Linked DNA regions of Homo sapiens: region 2 is linked to region 1. Evidence: promoter capture Hi-C in 16 types of primary human blood cells and fetal thymus (Javierre and others, 2016). All regions are on one chromosome and are shown on one strand. Each heading gives the region's core, a stretch centred on a gene start or on the middle of the fragment in contact. The rest is flanking DNA. Distances are from core to core; before and after follow the strand shown. Region 1 holds the start of TMEM128 (transmembrane protein 128). Region 2 has its middle 2.3 kb from the start of WFS1.

What was found. The method cuts DNA at HindIII sites, captures the fragments that hold promoters and counts their contacts. A CHiCAGO score of 5 or more calls a contact.
Region 2: a fragment that was not itself captured here is called in contact with the fragment with the promoter of TMEM128 in region 1 in 2 of 17 cell types (total B cells and naive CD4 T cells); the score reaches 6.6 in total B cells.

What each region holds. Positions count from the first base shown.
Region 1 is chr4:4,245,266-4,249,767 of GRCh38, reverse strand. It overlaps TMEM128 (transmembrane protein 128), which reads left to right and starts at 1,545. Exons shown (of 5, transcript NM_001297551.2): 1 at 1,545-1,662; 2 at 3,425-3,566. The coding sequence starts at 1,566. RefSeq lists enhancers at 1,165-1,274, 1,577-2,203. The HindIII fragment of the contact is 7,732 bases long and covers 1-4,502 here.
Region 2 is chr4:6,265,568-6,269,492 of GRCh38, reverse strand. No RefSeq gene overlaps it. Among named protein-coding and RNA genes, the nearest start is that of WFS1, 2.3 kb to the left of the region's middle. RefSeq lists an enhancer at 3,861-3,925. The HindIII fragment of the contact is 2,109 bases long and covers 212-2,320 here.

The DNA of each region.
Region 1 (4,502 bases), core at 296-2,795:
CTGTTGCCCAAGCTGGAGTGCAGTGGCAGGATCACTGCAGCCTCCTTCTCCCAGGTTCAAGTGATTGTCCTGCCTCAGCCTCCAGAGTAGCTGGGATTACAGGTGCCGGCCACCATTCCCGGCTAACTTTTGTATTTTTAGTAGAGACGGGGTTTCGCCATGTTGGCCAGGCTGGTCTCAAACGCCTGACCTTGTGATCCGCCCGCCTCGGCCTCGCAAAGTGTTGGGATTACAGGCGTGAGCCACCGCGCGCGGCTGGCACTCTTTTCTTGAGTATTTCTTATTACATTCCTTTTACAAACACCCCAACACATCGAAGATATTAAACAGTGCCTACTAATTCAAATTTTACTTCCTATGTAGCTGGCTCTCCACCCCTGTATTCAACTCACCTGAAACCACTCTCCCTGCTCTCCCACACTGCAGCAGAATAAACTGCCCTTTATATGTACAGTGTTTCTATTATGCCCCATGTACAGTGTTTTTATTATGGCACTGTATTGAAGCTGCTTCCTCTACTAGATTCTTCTGTCCTCACCATTTTATCACATGCAGCTGCTCAGAAAATGTTGGCTGCATTGATGAAATGCTTTCATACATTTACAAATAGAGTTTTCTTGTAATATACCTCTGTGGTTTTCTTTGGACAAGGAGCTCCTCACGTGCAAGGCCATGTCTTACTCATCTTTATCTCCACTGCTAGCATGGTGCCTAACAGCTCCTACCAAATAGTAGATGCTCAGTAAACGTTTGCGTGGCTAAGCCCACCATTTCTCAGCACATGACACGCTGGGAAACGGCTGGGAGAGTAATACGCGGGATTATTGACGAAGAAAAAGTTGTGAACTCGTAACACACAGTTTGTGGGCGTGAGCAGTGTGGAAAACCGCAGTTTGCTGGGAAAGCAATTTAGTTCCCTCGGTTCAGGCTGGGAGGATTTTTCACAAGTGGCGAGGAGGAGGCTCACATGAACCACATACAGGTACTTCTCACTGAAACGCACAACAAATCTAGAGCCAAGTGTAATAACGAAACGGGCCCCAAGAAGTTTATTTAATGCCCAGGGCCCCCAAGTGGTCACTGCCAGGCTCTAGCATCCTGTCCAGCAGGCCTTTCTCCTCCTTTCAAGTCTTGCTGGACGACTCCTGAAAAGCAAAAGTAGGAAAAAAACTGGGGGCTGAGAGTGGAAGGCTGGACAGAGGGTATGTCTCCTGCTCTGGCACCCGGAAGCCTGCGAGGGCTTCGGAAGCGCAGCGTCTCACGGTCGCGCATCCCGGCCCTGGACGCATCCAGCGGCAGCGGTAATCCTGGTCCTCCTGGGCTTCCGTAGGTCGGAATAAACTTGGGAACTCTTCCACCGGCAAAGCTCAGTGTTTTAAAATTCAAATCACACTTGCCGACATGAGAGCGGAACCTTTGAGGCCGACTCCACCCTAGCTGCTCGCTAACTAAACAGCGAAGAGAACACAGTCTCCAATCCAAACGCCAGGAGGTCCAGACCCGGAGCGGACGCCGGAAGCGCTGTGTCTGACGTCACTTCCGTCGCATTTCGGGGCGGTACCAAGATGGACTCCTCGCGGGCCCGGCAGCAGCTCCGGCGGCGATTCCTCCTCCTGCCGGACGCCGAGGCCCAGCTGGACCGCGAGGGTGACGCCGGGCCGGGTGAGGCGCGCACCAAGCCGCCCCGAGGTTCTCAGAGGCGAGGCGTCGGAAAACGGCCGGCCTCCGGCAGCCCTGGCCCAGTCTGGAAGGACTGAGTTTCGGCTTTGCAAGTCGAATATTTAATGTCAGGGAAGATCCTTAGAATCGCGGAGTGCTGTGCATCGTCATTTCAGCTGCGCTTCAGAATTCTCTGGAGAGCTGATTTGACACCTATTTGGAAATAGCGATTAAAATTAAAAATACCCACCAGTTTTAAGTCTTAAGGATTTACCAGAAACATGCGTGTACCGCAGTGTACAATGATGTGCGCAGTGTTTCACTTCAGGATTGCTTGTAATAGCGAATTACTGGAAATATCTGCCTTGCCCGTCAGCAGAAAGCTGTTTAAGTAAATTTGGGTATATGTATACCTGACACATCAGGTCGACTCGTATGTACCAATGGGGATGATTTTCAAAGGGAAGTGTGGAACACTATGGTATGCCGCCATTTGGGTACAAAACAGGTAACTTGTGATGTATGTTCACCTGTGAATGCATAGAATATGGAAGAATTCAGTAGAAATTGTAAGTGGTGGTTGCTTCTGGGGATTAGATCTGAGGTTAAGGATGGGAGACAGATACTTCATTTTGGATATTTTTTATCTCATATGTTTTAAAACCACGTCCATTTATTACCTTTTAAAATTAAAAACACGAATAACCTCATGCCCAGGCATGATGATGTATACATTTTGAGGATATCCCAGAATATTACGAACATGCTTCCCAGGGTTTCCGATGGTCATCTAAAGGCCCAAAACCTCAGATGTGGACCATTGATTCTCACGTGAACCTAGAGGGCATGTCAGAATCCCCGGAAAACTTAATAGAAATCATCCATCTGACCCAACCCCCATCCACCCATTCTTTCAGATTGCGTTCCAGACAGGAAAAATGTCTTGTCCATCACCTGTCTAGACAGTGCTGTGCTGGAACTAGAGCTCTGGTGTGCCGTTTCCACTTTTGAGCTGTGTTTAAAGTAACTAAAATATTTAGTTATAGGCTGGGCAGGGTAGCTCACGCCTGTAATCCCAGCACTTTGAGAGGCTGAGGCGGGCTGATCACGAGGTCAGGAGTTCGAGACCAACCTGGCCAAATAGAGCAGCCTGGCCAAGATGGTGAAACCCCGTCTCTACTAAAAATACAAAAATTAGCCCGGCGTGGTGGCAGGCGCCTGTAATCCCAGGTACTCGGGAGGCTGAGGCAGGAGAATTGCTTGAACCCGGGAGGCGGTGGTTGCAGTGAGCCGAGATCAAACCATTCCACTCCAACCCGGGCGACAGAGGAAGACTCCGACTCAAAAAAAAAAAATTTAGTTATAAAAGTGTTCTTGGAAGACCACAAGTCCAGTTCATGCGCTAATGTTTGCCTTTGGCATTTTTCCTAATTAACAAGACTAATTACTTTCCTAGAAGAAATGTGAAACATAATATTAAAATTCTTACATTTCCAGGTGACATTGTTATTTCCGAAAGACGATGAAAGTGTAAATTTGATTTCACAATGTATTTAGAGGAAATAAATTGACTGTATTGACCATATTTTATAGTGGGCTCTTATTTTTTGTAAATATAAACCTATCTCAAGGGTTTTACAGAAGGATTTGTTATCATGGGAGAGACTGTTTCTTAGCTCTAGGAAATGATTTTATTTGGCTTAAGTGTAATTTTTCCTCGCAAAATTGTGGTAACTTAATAAGTTGAAATCTCCCTTATTTGCAGAAACCTCCACAGCTGTTGAGAAAAAGGAGAAACCTCTTCCAAGACTTAATATCCATTCTGGATTCTGGATTTTGGCATCCATTGTTGTGACCTATTATGTTGACTTCTTTAAAACCCTTAAAGAAAACTTCCACACTAGCAGGTAAGAAAATTTTATTGCTTTGTAAATTAAACCCAAGTCTGATTTTTCGTGTTATATTTTGTTAGTTGAATTCTTCAAACAGTAAGCACCTACTACTCTCTGCCAGGCCCTGTGTTGGAGGTGTGGTGATACGAAGATGAATATGAGATGGGGGTCAAAGGGTACATATTTTTAGTTATAAGATGAATAAGGTCTGGAGATCTAATGTACATACAGTATAGTGACTATAGTTAATAAGGCTGTATTGTATACTTGAAATTTTCTAAGAGTAGGTCTTGTGTCCTCCCCCTGTTACCCCACCAGTGGTAACTATGTGAGGTGATGAGTGTGATAATTAACTTGATTGTGGTAATAATTTCACAATGTGTGTGTGTGTATATGTATACACGTATATATATATTCATATATATGTATATATGTATATATTCATGTGTGTGTGTATATATATATCAAGTCATCACACTGTATACCTTGAATATATAAAATTTTAATTTGTCAATTGTACTTCAATAAAGCTGGAAAAAATAAAACCAATGAGAGGGTGTGTGCTCTGGGCACATACAGTAGAGTGGAATAGAACTGGAAATTATTTGTGTGCAAATAAATGTGTTGTAGGATGAGGAAGGTAGTAAATTTAAGAAGAACCTAATCCATTTGGGGAAAAGAGGGAGAAAGACTGACTGAAGGTCTTCAAAGACCAAGTACAAGAGTACTGGGAGGAAGAGCCGAGAACTGTGGCCAGTGGGAATTGGGTCTCAGGGTTGGTTTCAGAGGGTGGTTACAGCTGACAAGGTAACTACAGGGTGTAACTGTGTTAGAGTGGAGGTGAAGGTCCACAGTGGGAGGAGTGACAGCTTTGTGGCCAGACCAGATGTCCAGTAGTTCCTCATTCACAGGGACTGAGATCCTTTCAGTATAGTCTCCAGAGTTGACATG
Region 2 (3,925 bases), core at 17-2,516, 2.0 Mb before region 1:
ACTCCGGCCTCAGCGTCCCCAACTGCAGATTCATTATATTTGCTGTTGCAATATTAACACACGTCTTGAGCGCCTATTCCGGCGCTGCAAGAGAGTCTAAGGGCTCCCCTAATAACAGCAGCAGAGATGGAAAAATGGGGCCTGTTTGAAACGAGTGTCTGCAGCCAAGTACTGCTTTCAGTGCCCAGAATCAAATGCAGTGTAGCAAGCTTTTCACACGGTGACTGTGGGATTCCTTTAAAGTGTGTGTTAGCCCAGGGAGTGGGCAAGGCTCAGGCAGTTTGGAGACTCTGGGAGTTTGGTTCCTGTCTGGGAGGCGTGGTTTGGAGATGAGGGCGAGGGTCTATCCTTGAGAGGCCCTGGGGAACGTGAGACCCTGCCTGCTCTGTCTCTGGTCCCCACAACCAACCTGAGCTACCTGTCCTAGTTATCACAGCAGAAACTGGGGCTCGGAGTGACTGTCAGAGATAATGCTTACCAACATGTTGGGAGCAAATATTCCAGATGGCTTTGGAGATGAGTTCTGAACACACTACTTCGGAGGACTTTTGTCAAAGCGGCGTAGTTCATGTCAGTCACCTCATTTGATTCTCCAGCTGCCCCCACTGCCCACCCCCGATCCCCAATGTTCACGTGTGACCCTGTGAGGCTCACAGAGGAAGGAAGAACACCTGCCGTCAGCCTCGCCTGCTCTGTCCAGGTTGGCTTAGGGGCTTTCACAGCTTTCAAGGGCCCCCCTAGTGACCCAAGGAGGGAGGTGGCACTGAGCCCATTTTTTATTGATGTGAAAATTGAGGCTCAGACATAGTTATTTGCCCAAAGTCTTGAAGATGTCTTTCCACCTTATCACACACTAACTGTAGAAAATTTGGAGAATTACTAAAAGTAGAAAGGAGAAAAAAAATCACTCAAAGATGATCACTGTTCACATTGTGAGATTTATGCACATTTAAGAAAATAATAAATATTAATGTGAACACACAATCACAGAGAGGCTGAAGCACTTCCCAAACCCTTTGCAGGGGCTCATTAAGCAGAGAGAAGAGGACAGATTGAAAAGTTCCTCCTGTGGAGGTCTAAGGGAAGAGAGGAAGTGCAACAAAAAATCTACAAGATGGCTTAAGGAGCCTCTATCAGAACACAGCAACACTGAACATACTCCACGGAGCTAAGAGACTGAAAAAGCAACAGGCAAATTCAGAAAGAGAAGAGTGGAGGTGAGGACAAATGAGCAAACTGGAAGATAATGTGGAGTAAATGCTTCATGATGTAGAGGAAAAGCACATGAAAATCATCAGGACAAAAAGCAGAGACTGGAAAGACAGTTCCAGGAGGTGTATTGCACAAAGGACAGGTACTCCAGGAAGAGCTGGAGGGGAAACAGAGGTGAGCAAAGTGCCAGGAGAACGTGTCCCTGGAAATCCCAGATGCCAAGGATAAAGAGACGGTCTTGCAGAGTTCCAGAAAGAACAGGTCACATCTAAGGGGAGAAAAGTTGAAGTGGTTCCTAGGGGACTTTGGAGCAATGTCCAGGGACTCTGATGATAGGATCAAGGATCCTTACCATGGCTACTACAGGATTCATCTATGTGGACAAAAGAGAGAAAATATCCACTGTGGCAAGACAGAGAAAGGACCTCAGTGATGTCCCCTTTCAGAGGAAGATATTCAGAGTTCCCCCGTCACCGAGACAGTTCAATCACAGTAGAGATTTCAAGATAGAGCAAACGCTCAGAACAGGAAGTGGTGTTAAGCAATGACCCTTGCAAAATATACAGTATGGATAATCCACATGTGCCTGTGATTTTGTACTAGCAGTGCCACATAAGGATTCTTAAAACATAAGCTACATGCTTCAAGAGAAAGTTGTATTAGCCTGGAACTAAAAAAAAAAATAGAATCTTATCACAGAGAAGTCAGAATATTTTAAGATCACATTTGGTTGAGGGGAGAAGGAGGAAGTAAAAGGATCTGATTTGGTGAGTGGGGAAGGAAAGCCTTATTGGTGGTTGGGAGGGGTGCTTCATTACCATTTACTTTTAATACATTAGCAGGGAAAGATTGGTTTAATTATGACTCTCAGCTGGGGAAGGAAAGCCTTATTGGTGGTGGGGAGGGGGCTTCATTACCATTTACTTTTAATACATTATCAGGGAAAGATTGGTTGAATTATGACTCTCAGGAATTGGAAAGTAGCAACTCACGGGAAAGAAGCAGAGTAGAACTCCTGAATTACTAGGTAGAAGTTGGGGGAGGGGTGGAGGGAGAGTAAGGAAGCAAAATTAAGGGGGAAAGTAAATAATAGCAAGAACAATAAGCTTAATAATAGTAAACATAAGATGAGATAAAATAAATAAAGCCATGGCTACCCGCCTTCGTAACACGGTGAATGGGCTGAATTTCCCATCCAAAGTCTGTAAGATTGGGGCAAAAACTAAAGTCCAGTTAAGCGCTATTTACAAGAAACACACCAAAAATATTGAGAAGTAGAAGATCACAGCAGACATTTGAAAAATGGCAAATTACTATTGATAAGGAAGAACGCATGATGGAAAGCATTCACGGGAAGAGTGGTATTATGTAAGGGTGCCAGGCACAATCCACAAAGATTTCATTGTCATGAATCTGAATGAGCCAGAAAATCTAGTAGCCACACACTTAAAGCAGTAACTGCTAGAAATACTAGAACTTATTAAAACACAACTCTGGTGGGAGAAAGAGCCAGCTGTTCAATGCTATCTTTTCTAGGACACCTGTCCTCATTCCCCCAAGAGCTGAGCTCTGCATGTTGCTGCTGAGTATTGAATGAATGAATGGATGGATGGATGGATGAATCACCTATGCAAGGACTTCATATAAGCTCTTTCTTGCCCATAGGACAGTGTCCAAACTCTTTAACCTGACATCCAAATATACCCCCCACAATTCAGTCCTTTGATGTCTGCCCATGATTTTCAGACTCTGCATTCAAGTTCTTGGCCCACTTCCTTCCCTACACCTATTTAAAACCTACTTCCATTTACTCAACAAACATTTAGTGACTTTTGGCCAGGCGTGGTGGCTCACACCTGTAATCCTAGCCCTTTGGGAGGCCGAGGTGGGTGGATCACTTGAGGTCAGCAGTTCGAGACCAGCCTGGCCAACATGGAGAAACCCCATCTCTACTAAAAATACAAAAAAATTAGCCGGGCGTCATGGCACATGCCTGTAATCCCAGCTACACAGGAGGCTGAGGCAGGAGAATCGCTTGATCCCAGGAACTGGAGGTTGCAGTGAGCAGAGATCATGCCACTGCACTCCAGCCTGGGCGACAGAGTAAAACTCTGTCTCAAAAATAATAAGAATAATAATAAAATAAATAAAAATTAAAAAATATAAACATTTAGTGACATCCTGCCTGTTCCAGGCATTGGACTACATGCCAAGTATTCAAAGAAAATGAGGACAGAGGCTTGGTGAGTTGTCATTTGAAAGACAGCAGAGTGTGGCGGTTTACAGGCTATTGGTGTACAAGGCCCCCAAAGAGATCACTTCCTGGAGCCTGTGAATGGTACCTTATTTAGAAAAGGGTTTTTGCAGATGTGATTAAGGATTTTGAGAAGGGGCCATTAGCCTGGCTTATCTCCTTGCAGGAGAGAGGCAGACAGAGATTTGACCACACACGGAGAAGTTGATGTGGACATAGAGCAGAGAGAGATTCCAAGACGCTGGCATTGAAGATAGGAATTATGTGGCCACAAGTCAAGGAATGCAGGCAGTCCCTGGAATCTGGAAGAGCAGGGAACAGATTCTCCTTGATTTTTGCCCAGTGACACTGATTTCAGACTTCCGGCCTTCATAACTGTGGCAGAATCCATTTCTGTGGTTTAAGCTACTGAGTGTGGCAATGAGTTTTTAGCCCACTGGGTTAATGAGATAAGAACAA